Regions from separate parts of the Homo sapiens genome. Here region 2 is linked to region 1. The links are contacts of gene promoters, found by promoter capture Hi-C in blood cells and fetal thymus (Javierre and others, 2016). All regions are on one chromosome and are shown on one strand. Each heading gives the region's core, a stretch centred on a gene start or on the middle of the fragment in contact. The rest is flanking DNA. Distances are from core to core; before and after follow the strand shown.

What was found. Contacts are between HindIII fragments. The CHiCAGO score rates a contact against its expected background, and 5 or more counts as called.
Region 2: a fragment that was not itself captured here is called in contact with the fragment with the promoter of RPL38 in region 1 in 2 of 17 cell types (erythroblasts and megakaryocytes); the score reaches 6.7 in erythroblasts.

What each region holds. Positions count from the first base shown.
Region 1 is chr17:74,200,459-74,205,059 of GRCh38, forward strand. RPL38 (ribosomal protein L38) reads left to right here and starts at 3,220. Exons shown (of 5, transcript NM_000999.4): 1 at 3,220-3,287; 2 at 3,460-3,500; 3 at 3,672-3,732. The coding sequence starts at 3,498. RefSeq lists enhancers at 2,456-2,959, 3,968-4,472, 4,473-4,601. The HindIII fragment of the contact is 15,941 bases long and covers 1-4,601 here.
Region 2 is chr17:74,292,844-74,297,721 of GRCh38, forward strand. The region is part of intron 6 of DNAI2 (dynein axonemal intermediate chain 2); the gene reads left to right. Among named protein-coding and RNA genes, the nearest start is that of DNAI2, 21 kb to the left of the region's middle. RefSeq lists a silencer at 3,718-3,952. The HindIII fragment of the contact is 4,296 bases long and covers 1-3,689 here.

The DNA.
Region 1 (4,601 bases), core at 1,970-4,469:
CCCAGCCCGATGTTCACCAAGTGAACGGAATGGATTGAATGGGGGAAAATCCTGGAGGTTGGGAAGTCTTCCCAGCCATGTGCCGTGCCAGCCCTCTGCCCACCTGCGAGCTGGGGCATTGGGGTTTTTTTGACCCATCCTGGTCCTCTTTCCAATGTGTCCCTGAAAACTGAAGAGAGAACTCTAAACCATTTGGCCTTCAGAGGTGGCCAGAGTGGGGCTGCTGGAGGGAGGAGGGGAGGCCCGGTGACTTCTGAGGCCCTCTCTGCCCAGAGCCAGCAGAGTGAGGGAAGGGAAGGAAGGAAAAGGGTTGGATTGTGTCCTGTAGCTCCGGACATGCCCTCTGAGCCTCTCCTGCCTCCAGCCATGCTGCAACACACTGCTTGAGACCCTCCCTACCGCCTCTTGACAACAGCAATAGCCCTCACCATCCCACAGCTGCCAGCACTGGACATTCCAGCCTACCAATGGCCAGAGCGACCATAACAGGCAGCCTGGGCCATCCTGCCCTCGAGTCCGGGGCTTTCCTCTCCTGCAGGATCCACCCTAGGCCCTGGAGAGTTTTGTTTCATGTGTATATGGGAGTCATCAGGGAGGCTCATGTCCAGGTCAGCATCTGCTCAAGGTCTCAGGCTGTGGCACTCAGGGCCTAGGCTCTGCCCCCCTTGGTCTCTGACAGTCCCCGGCCACTCCAGGACATTTGGGGCTCATCTTCCCATGGAGCAGGGAAGCGTGCCCTCTGGGCACCTTGCCTCACTTTTAGTAGCTGCAGCTTATTTTGCTATTTGTCCCCCTTGGGGAGCTGGAGGTCTTTGGTACTTGAACAAATTTGCCATTGTGTTTTGCTACTACACGTCTATGGTCCCTTAAATTATACAACTCAAGAGGGTGAACATCTGTCTCCCTGGGATCGCTGCCAAAAGGGAGGTGCAGCTCCTCCTTCTATCCCCGTCCTTGTCCTGTCGGGCCGGCAGTGAGGCAAGAAGCACCAGTCATTCATTCAACAAATAGTTTTTGGACCTACTACATGCCAGGCACTGCTTCAGGCACGTCAGTGTCTCCTTCTGGCTCTCCCTGAATTCCTCCCTCCATCCACCACCCCTTTATATGGTGAGTGATCTCAGATGCCGCATCCAGCCGGATCATCCTGCAATGTTAGCATTGAGCACTTACTGTACAGATGGGTACTGCACTTCGAGAGTTATCGACAGAATGCTGAGCCCTGTCCTTGCCTTCAAGGAAAAGTGGTAAGGTGGGGCGTAGTGGCTCACACCTGTTATCCTAGCACTTTGGGGGGCCGAGGCAGGAGGATCCCTTGAGCCCAGGAGTTCGAAACCAGCTTGGGCAACCTAGGGAGACCATGTCTCTAAAAAAGTTTTAAAAAATTAAAAATAAAAAGAGTGGTGCGCATGTATGAAAAGTTAAACACCTCCACGCAGCCTACGGAGAAGTGATTGCAAGGAACCACTGTATGAGCGGCAAGCAACATAAGTCAAGGGTGAAGGGTCCTGCCTGAAAAAGGGGAGGCGGGAGCTGAGCTCGGAAGGACCAGTGGCACTTGGCATCAGAGTGGACAGCAGAGCAAATACCTGGAGGGCAGAAAGTGCCCAAAAGTGCCCCTCGGCTTGGCTGAAAGGGTGGTTGCTTGTGGAGGAGCAGTGGGGTAGAAAAGACCAGAAAGGCATCGCCTGAGATGGGAAGGGCTGGCAAAGCCGGGCTCTGAGGTATGGGAAAATCCTTCTCAGGTCAGAGCTGAAGCACTCGTGCTTCTCAGATCGGATCCGACCTTCAGACATCTAAAATTAGGCTTCTGCCAATTAACTTTTCCCACTGCTAGAACCCCGACACATTTACAGTTGCAGAGACATCGTTCAGCTTCTTTAAAAGACTCTTCAGTGTTATTACAATATTTTTGTGATCTCTCTGCAGCAAGGTCTATTGGTTCCTGTATCTCCAGCACCCCCAGGAAGGTGCTCAGCCTGAGCTTGTTAATGGAAGGGCAGGAGGGAGGAAGAAAGGAAGGTTAAGTTAAATAAGTTCTAAGTAAAGCTCATGGCAAAGTGTTCTTTCCCTTCAGGAGGGCCGCTCTGTAATAATAAGCACGAAGCAATTACATTCTGCCGTGTGGTTATTAAATTTTGGGGAAACAAATATAATAAAATGTAGACATTTGTAGGGAGGTTGGAGATAAAATAAAAATGGAGGATAAAAATAAAATCGATAACCGCAGGTTGCTCAGAGTCTAACCTAAAGGATGTTAGGGGGAGAAAGGAACGCTGCCCTCCCCAGGCTTCCCAAGCCTCCCCAGGAAGTGGCCGGAGCCTGGGCTGGGGAATCTGCCCAGCAGGGGTTCAACTCCTGAGTCCACCTCTCCCCTCTGGGGCCGCGGTGAGACCCCGCAAGAGCAGGAGCACTCCCACTCACCATCAGCCCTAGGGGTGAGACACTTAGCCAGGGGCAGCGCTGCGACAGCTTTTGGAAGTATTATTATTATTATCATTATTGCTAGAGATGGGGGGGGGGAGGTCTTACTAGGTTGCCCAGGCTGCTCTCGAACTCCTGGCCTCAAGCGATCCGCCTGCCTCGGCCTCCCCCAGTGCTGGGGTTATAAGCGTGAGCCACCGCGCCCGGCCTTAACTTGCTTTCATTGTACACCAATTCCTAAGGGAATTGGAAGCAGCAAGCAGGAACGCTCCCTCTTATGGAAAGAAGAGCCCAGGGCCCTGGTCATGACAGGTTCAGGTGCCAAAAAGGAGACGGGAAGAAAACGTGAGGCGCCAGAACAACAGGTTCTACAAGGTGCACACGAGGGTCCCTGCCATTGAATGAAGAATTTTCTGTGTGGATGCCCCTGCGCAGGTCCAATGAAAGCCGTGGAGAATAAGCGTTAGCTCTTCAAACTGAATCTGAGCTAAAACCTAGCAAAGCCAGGCTGGGGTCTGAGGGGTTGCGGGGGAAGACAGGAAGGGGTGGACGGGGAAGAGGCGGGGGTCCTAGGAGGAAGGGATGGGGAGGAGCGAGAGGAGGGAGGCGGAGGGAGGGCGGCAGCCAGGATGGTCCATTCCATTCTTGGAGCTGCACTGTTGACTTCGACCACAAGGGGGCAGGGCTGCTGAAATTGGAAGTGCGAACGCCTACATGAGTCTTGATCCTCGGCAGGCACCGTACCCAGTTTCCTCCGTTGGGAGGGTTTAACTGCCCGGAAACGGAAGTCTCGTTCTTTTTCGTCCTTTTCCCCGGTTGCTGCTTGCTGTGAGTGTCTCTAGGGTGATACGTGGGTGAGAAAGGTAATCTGGGGCAATCCACTGCCAGGTGAAATCTGGGGACCCCAGGTCCGCGTGGAGGGTGTCGGGGAGGAGAAGGGGAGTGCGATGGGGCCGATATTTCGGGGGAGAGCGGGAAAACGGGGTTCGCTGCCAGCCCCCGCGCCGTGTTAACGCCGAGGACTGTTTCCCGCAGGTCCTGGTCCGCGCCAGAGCCCAGCGCGCCTCGTCGCCATGGTGAGTACAGTCCCTGCCTGGCGCCTTCCCGGGGTGGGCTCGTGGGGCCCCGGGGCGAGGGCGAGAGAGCCTCCCAAGGATCTCCTGAGGCCGGGAGAAGCTGGTGGACTGGGCCATCGCCGGGAGACGTGTCTCTTTCCTCTCTGTTCACCCGCTTCCTTTGTGTTGCAGCCTCGGAAAATTGAGGAAATCAAGGACTTCCTGCTCACAGCCCGACGAAAGGATGCCAAATGTAAGTGGTTGCTCCGAAGGTTCAAGAAGAGCGGTGCCTAGCCTGGCACCGCTCCGGGAGCGTCTTCCCCGGAATGTCAGGCAGGAGACGGTTAGGCCGTCTGGGTGTGTGCCTGGCCCTCTGGGAGCAGTGGTTTCATCCTGTTTCCCATGAGAAAGACCTGTGGGGGGCACGTTGAGGCCCTGGAATTTCTAGGACCATCTTTAGCTAATCGCGATCATCTCAGAGGCCGCCCTGAGTTCAGTTTTCTTTCGTATAATATAGTAAATTGTCGGAACGGAATCTCCACTCCGCGAAAGCCTCAAAACACACGTCCCATAAACACTGTTTAGGTTCTCTGCAGTTGTGCAAAATCTTAACACAAAATCCATTTTGTAATAAAGTGCTGGATATTTGCATGTAATGTATCGAGCACGGCACACTGTGTAGTATGGTCGTTTACCTCGTGATCCTGTGGTCGCTGGCCAGTGTCAGAAGGTATCATACCTATCTAATCCAGAAAAATATTTAAAAAAATTTTTTTTTTTCTTTGAGACAGTCTGGCTCTGTCGCCCAGGCTGGATTGCAGTGGTGCGATCTTGGCTCACTGCAATTACCGCCTCCCAGGTTCAAGCGATCCCCCTGCCTCAAAGTAGCTGGGCGCGCCACCATGCCTAGCTGATTTTTGTGTTTTTGGTAGAGACAGAGTTTCACCATGTTGGCCAGGCTGGTCTCGAACTCCTAACCTCAGATGATCCACCTGCCTCCGCCTCCCAGAGTGCTGGGATTACAGGTGTGAGCCACTGTGCCCCGCCAAGATCAAAATTTGAAGCAGGGCTTCTACTGAATGTATATCGCATTACCACCATTGTAAAGTCACAGAGTTTAAG
Region 2 (4,878 bases), core at 292-2,791, 91 kb after region 1:
TTTTGGGACGGAGTCTTGCTCTTTCGCCCAGGCTGGAGTGCAGTGGCGCGATCTTGGCCCACTGCAAGCTCTGCCTCCTGGGTTCACGCCATTCTCCTGCCTCAGCCTTCCGAGTAGCTGGGACTACAGGTGCCTGCCACCACGCTGGGCTAATTTTTTGTATTTTTTTTTAGTAGAGACGGGGTTTCACCGTGTTAGCCAGGATGGTCTCGATCTCCTGACCTCGTGATCCGCCCGCCTCGGCCTCCCAAAGTGCTGGGATAACAGGCGTGAGCCACCGCACCTGGCCTGTCCAGTGGAGTTTTCTATAGTTGTCTGGGAGGTCTTGTCTATAGTGTTGGTCAAGACTTCTATTTCCTTGTTGATCTTTCACGTAGTAATTATGTCTATTATTGAAAGTAGGATACTGATGTCTGCCATTATTATTGTTGAATTGTCTATTTCTCCTTCAATTTTGTCAGGTTTTGCTTCCTGTATGTTAAGGCTATGTTATTAGGTACATGCACATGCTTATAATTGTTAAGTTTTCCTAGTGAATTAACCCTTTTATCAGTATATGATGTCTTCATTTGTCTCTAGTAGCATTTTTCATCTCAAAGTCTGTCTTTGAGATAAGCACTCCAGCCCTCTTTGGTTACCATTTGCATGGTATATCTTTCCCCATCCTTTTACTTTTAACCTGTTTGCCTCTTTGAATCTAAAGTATGTCTTGTAGCCAGGTGTGGTGACACGCACCTGTAATCCCAGCTACTTGGGAGGCTAAGGCACGAGAATCGCTTGAACCTGGGAAGCTGAGATTGCAGTGAGTCGAGATCATGCCACTGAACTCCAGCCTGGGTGACAGAGCGAGACTCCATCTCAAAAAAATAAAAATAAAATAAAAAAATAAAGTATGTCTCTTGTAGATTACATGTAGCTGGCATACAAGTGAATCATAGTTTTGTTTTGTTTTGTTTTTGAGACAGAGTCTTACTCTGTCACCCAGGCTGGAGTGCAGTGGCGTGATCTCGGCTCACTGCAACCTCCGCCTCCTGGGTTCAAGCGATTCTCCTGCCTCAGCCTCCCGAGTAGCTGGGATTACAGGTGCATGCCACCACGCCCAGCTAATTTTTGTAGTTTTGGAGAGATGAGGTTTTACCATGTTGGCCAGGCTGATCTCGAACTCCTGGCCTCAAGCGATATGCCCACCTCGGCCTCCCAAAGTGCTGGGATTACAGGCATGAGCCACCACGCCCAGCTTGGATCGTGGTTTTTTCCTTTTAATCTATTCTATCTATCTCTGGTTTTAAGTGGAGAGTTTAATCTATTTACATTAATTTAATTACTGATAAAGTTTACATCTGCCATTTTGCTTTTTTTTCCTATATGTCTTACATCTTTTTGTTCTTTCTCCATAACTGCCTTCTTTTGTGCCACGTATTTTCTAGTGTACCATTTTAATTCCCTTATCATTTCTTTTTTTTTTTTCTTTTCTTTTTTTTTTAGAGACAAGGTCTCACTCTGTCACCCAAGCTGGAGCGCAGTGCTGTGATCATAGCTCACTGCAGCCTCAAACTCCTGGGCTCAAGCAATCCTCCCACCTCAGCCTCCTGAGTGGTTGGGACAACAGGTGCACGTCACCACACTCAGCTACTTTTTTATTTTTTAATTTTTGTAGAGATAGGGTCTTGCTATGTTGCCCAGGCTGGTCTTGAACTCCTGGCCTCAGGCAATTCTCCCACCTTGGCCTCCCAAAGTGCTGGGATTTCAGGCGTGAGCCACCACACTCAACTTAAGCTATTGATCTTATTGATGATCCTGTGTATGTGATGAGTCATTTTTCTCTTGCTGCTTTCAAGAGTCTCTGTCTTCAGCTTTGATTATGATGTTTCTAGGTATGGATATCTTTGAGTTTATCCCACTTGGAATTCATTGAGTTTCTTGGATGTGTAGATTATTTTTTTAAAAATCAAATATGGAATATTTACAACCATTATTTATTCAAATATTCTTTCCTACCCTTTCTCTCTCTCCTCTCCTTCTGTGACTTCCATTATGTGTATGTTGGCATGCTTGATGGTGTCCCATAGGTCTTTAGACTCTGTTTTTCTTTGTTCTCTTTTCTTTCTATTCCTCAGACTACATAATCTCAATTGACCCATCTTCACGTTCAGTGATTCTTCTGCCTGCTCAAATATGCCATCCTGTAGCTTCTCTGCTATATTTTTATTTTGGTTAATGACTCCAGAATTTCTATTTTGTTCTTTCTTTTAAAAATAATTTCTGTCTCATTTGGATGTGGTGGCTCGTGCCTGGAAACCTAGCACTTTGGGAGGCTGAGGTGGGTGGATTACCTGAACTCAGGAGTTCAAGACCAGCATGGGCAACATGGTCAAACCCCATCTCTACTTAAAAAAAAAAAAAAAAAAATCAGCCAGGTGAGGTGGAGTGCACCTGCAATCTCAGCTACTTGGGAGGCTGAGGCAAGAGAATTGCTTGAACCCAGGAGGCAGAGGTTGCAGTAAGTTGAGATTGTGCCACTGCACTCCAGGCTGGGCAACAAAGCGAAACTCTGTCTTCAAAAATAATAATGATAATGATTTTTGTCTATTTGTATCTTTTATTTGGTGAGAGATCATCTCATGCTTTTCTTTAGTTCTTTTGATGTGACTTCCTTTAGTTCTTTGAACATGTTTAGCATAGCTGATGTGAGGCCTTTGTCTAGTTAGTCCAATATCTGGGCTTCTTGGGGACAATCTCTATTTATTGCTTTTTTATTCCTGTGTTTGGGCCATACATTTGTATTTCTTGGCATGTCTTATAATTTTTTTTTTATTAAAAACTATACTTTTTGTATGATTTAATGTGGCAACTTTGCAAATCAGATTGACATACCTCCCAGAGTTTGTGTTGTTGCTGTTTGTTGTAGTTGTTCTTTGTTTCATTAATACATTTTCTTAGCTAGTTCTGGAAAGTCTGTATTCCCTGTCACGTGTGACCACTTATAGTCTCTGCTTAGCTTAGTGATTAGTTAATGATTGAACAAAGATTTCCTTAAGCATTTGTCACCAAAAAATCTCCCCTTCTCTGCTAAGGGGCTCTGTGTGCGTGTGTGAGCATGCCTTTACACTCAGCCAGGCAGTTGTCAACTCTGCCTTAGTGTCTGTGCAGAGATGAGGTCAGCCAGAGAGTTTAGGGCTTTATCGGTTTTCCTGAGCATGACACAGCTCTGGGCGTGCACACAGCTCTATCCATGCTTGTGACCTTCTAGACTCCCAGGAATATGTCAGATCTTTTCAAAGCCCTGTGGACACATCATGCTTCAGCTTTTCCTTTTACTTATTTACTTTTGTTGTTTAAATGTAATAGAAGTTGAGCACAGTGGCTCACGTCTGTAATCCTAACACTTTGAGAAGCTGAGGCGGGAGGATCGCCTGCATTCAGGAGTTTGAAACTAGCCTGTGCAGCATAGTGAGATCTTGCCTTTAAAGAGAGAGAGAGAGAGAGAGAGGAGAGAGAGAGAGGAGAGAGAGAGGAAGGGGGAAGGAGGGAGGGAGGGAGAGAGAGAGAGAGAGAGAAAGAAAGAAAATAGGGACAGGGTCTTGCTATGTTGACCAGGTTGGTTGTGAACTCCTGGCCTCAAGCAGTCCTGCCTCAGCCTCCCAAAGTACAGGCGTGAGCCACTGTACTCGGCCCAGCTTTTCCTTTTAAGCTTTTCGGTAGGTCTATTCCTTTCCCCACCTGTTATCCACTGCCTCAGGAAGCTGCAAAGTTAGTCAGTTGCCTGCAATTACACCCTGATGAAAAGACTTTTCACACCAGGCAAAGGCTGAACCAAGTCAATTACAGCCAACCTTGCAAGAGGAGCCTTATCAGGGAACCACCAGACCGGTCAGATAATGACAGTTCTTTGGGCATGAGACTTGAAAGGAGCTCCAGCCTCATTCTGCTCCCTCTTGTGGCGCCAGGCTGCTGTTTTTCATCAGGAGTGCAGAATGTGAATTTTCAAGGCCACCACGGAACTGCAGAGTGTGCGATCTTAACTAGGGCAAGTGAAAATGCCACTGTTCTTACCAAGATTCTGCTGTTTTTCTTGAATAAACATTCTCCCGACTGCCCTAAGCCTCTGGCTAATTTCCAGAGTTCTGAAAAAGTTGATTCTGACCATTTTTGCCAGTTTTCTCACTGCTATTATGGAGGAGAGAATTTTTGGAGGTCCTTACTTCACGGATTTTGCTGATGGCACACCTGGAAAACTGATTTTTGTTTGTTTGTTTCTTTGAGACAGAGTCTCGCTGTGTCACCTAGGCTGGAGTGCAATGTCACGATCTTGGCTCACTGCAAGCTCCGCCTCCCAGGTTCATGCCATTCTCCTGCCTCAGCCTCCCGAGTAGCTGGGACTACAGGTGCCCGCCACCACGCCCAGCTAATGTTTTGTATTTTTTTTTTTTAGTAGAGACGGGGTTTCACTGTGTTAGCCAGGATGGTCTTGATCTCTTGACCTCGTGATCTGCCTGCCTCGGCCTCCCAAAGTGCTGGGATTACAGGCATGAGCCACCGTGCCCAGACTTTTTTTTTTTTTTTTTGAGACAGGGTCTTGCTCTGTCACCCAGGCTGGAGTACAGTGGTGTGATCTCAGCTCACTGCCACCTCCGCCTCCTGGGTTCAAGCGATCCTCCTGCCTCAGCCTCCCCAGAGGCTGGTGCATGCCACCACGCCTGGCTAATTTTTGTATTTTTAATAGAAACAGAGTTTTGTCATGTTGGCCAGGCTGTTCTCAAACTCCTGGCCTCAAGTGATCCACCCACCTTGACCTCCCAAAGTGCTGGGATTACAGGCGTGAGCCACCAAGCCCAGCCCAAACTGCTTTTTTTTTTTTTTAATCTCCAGTGAGATCAG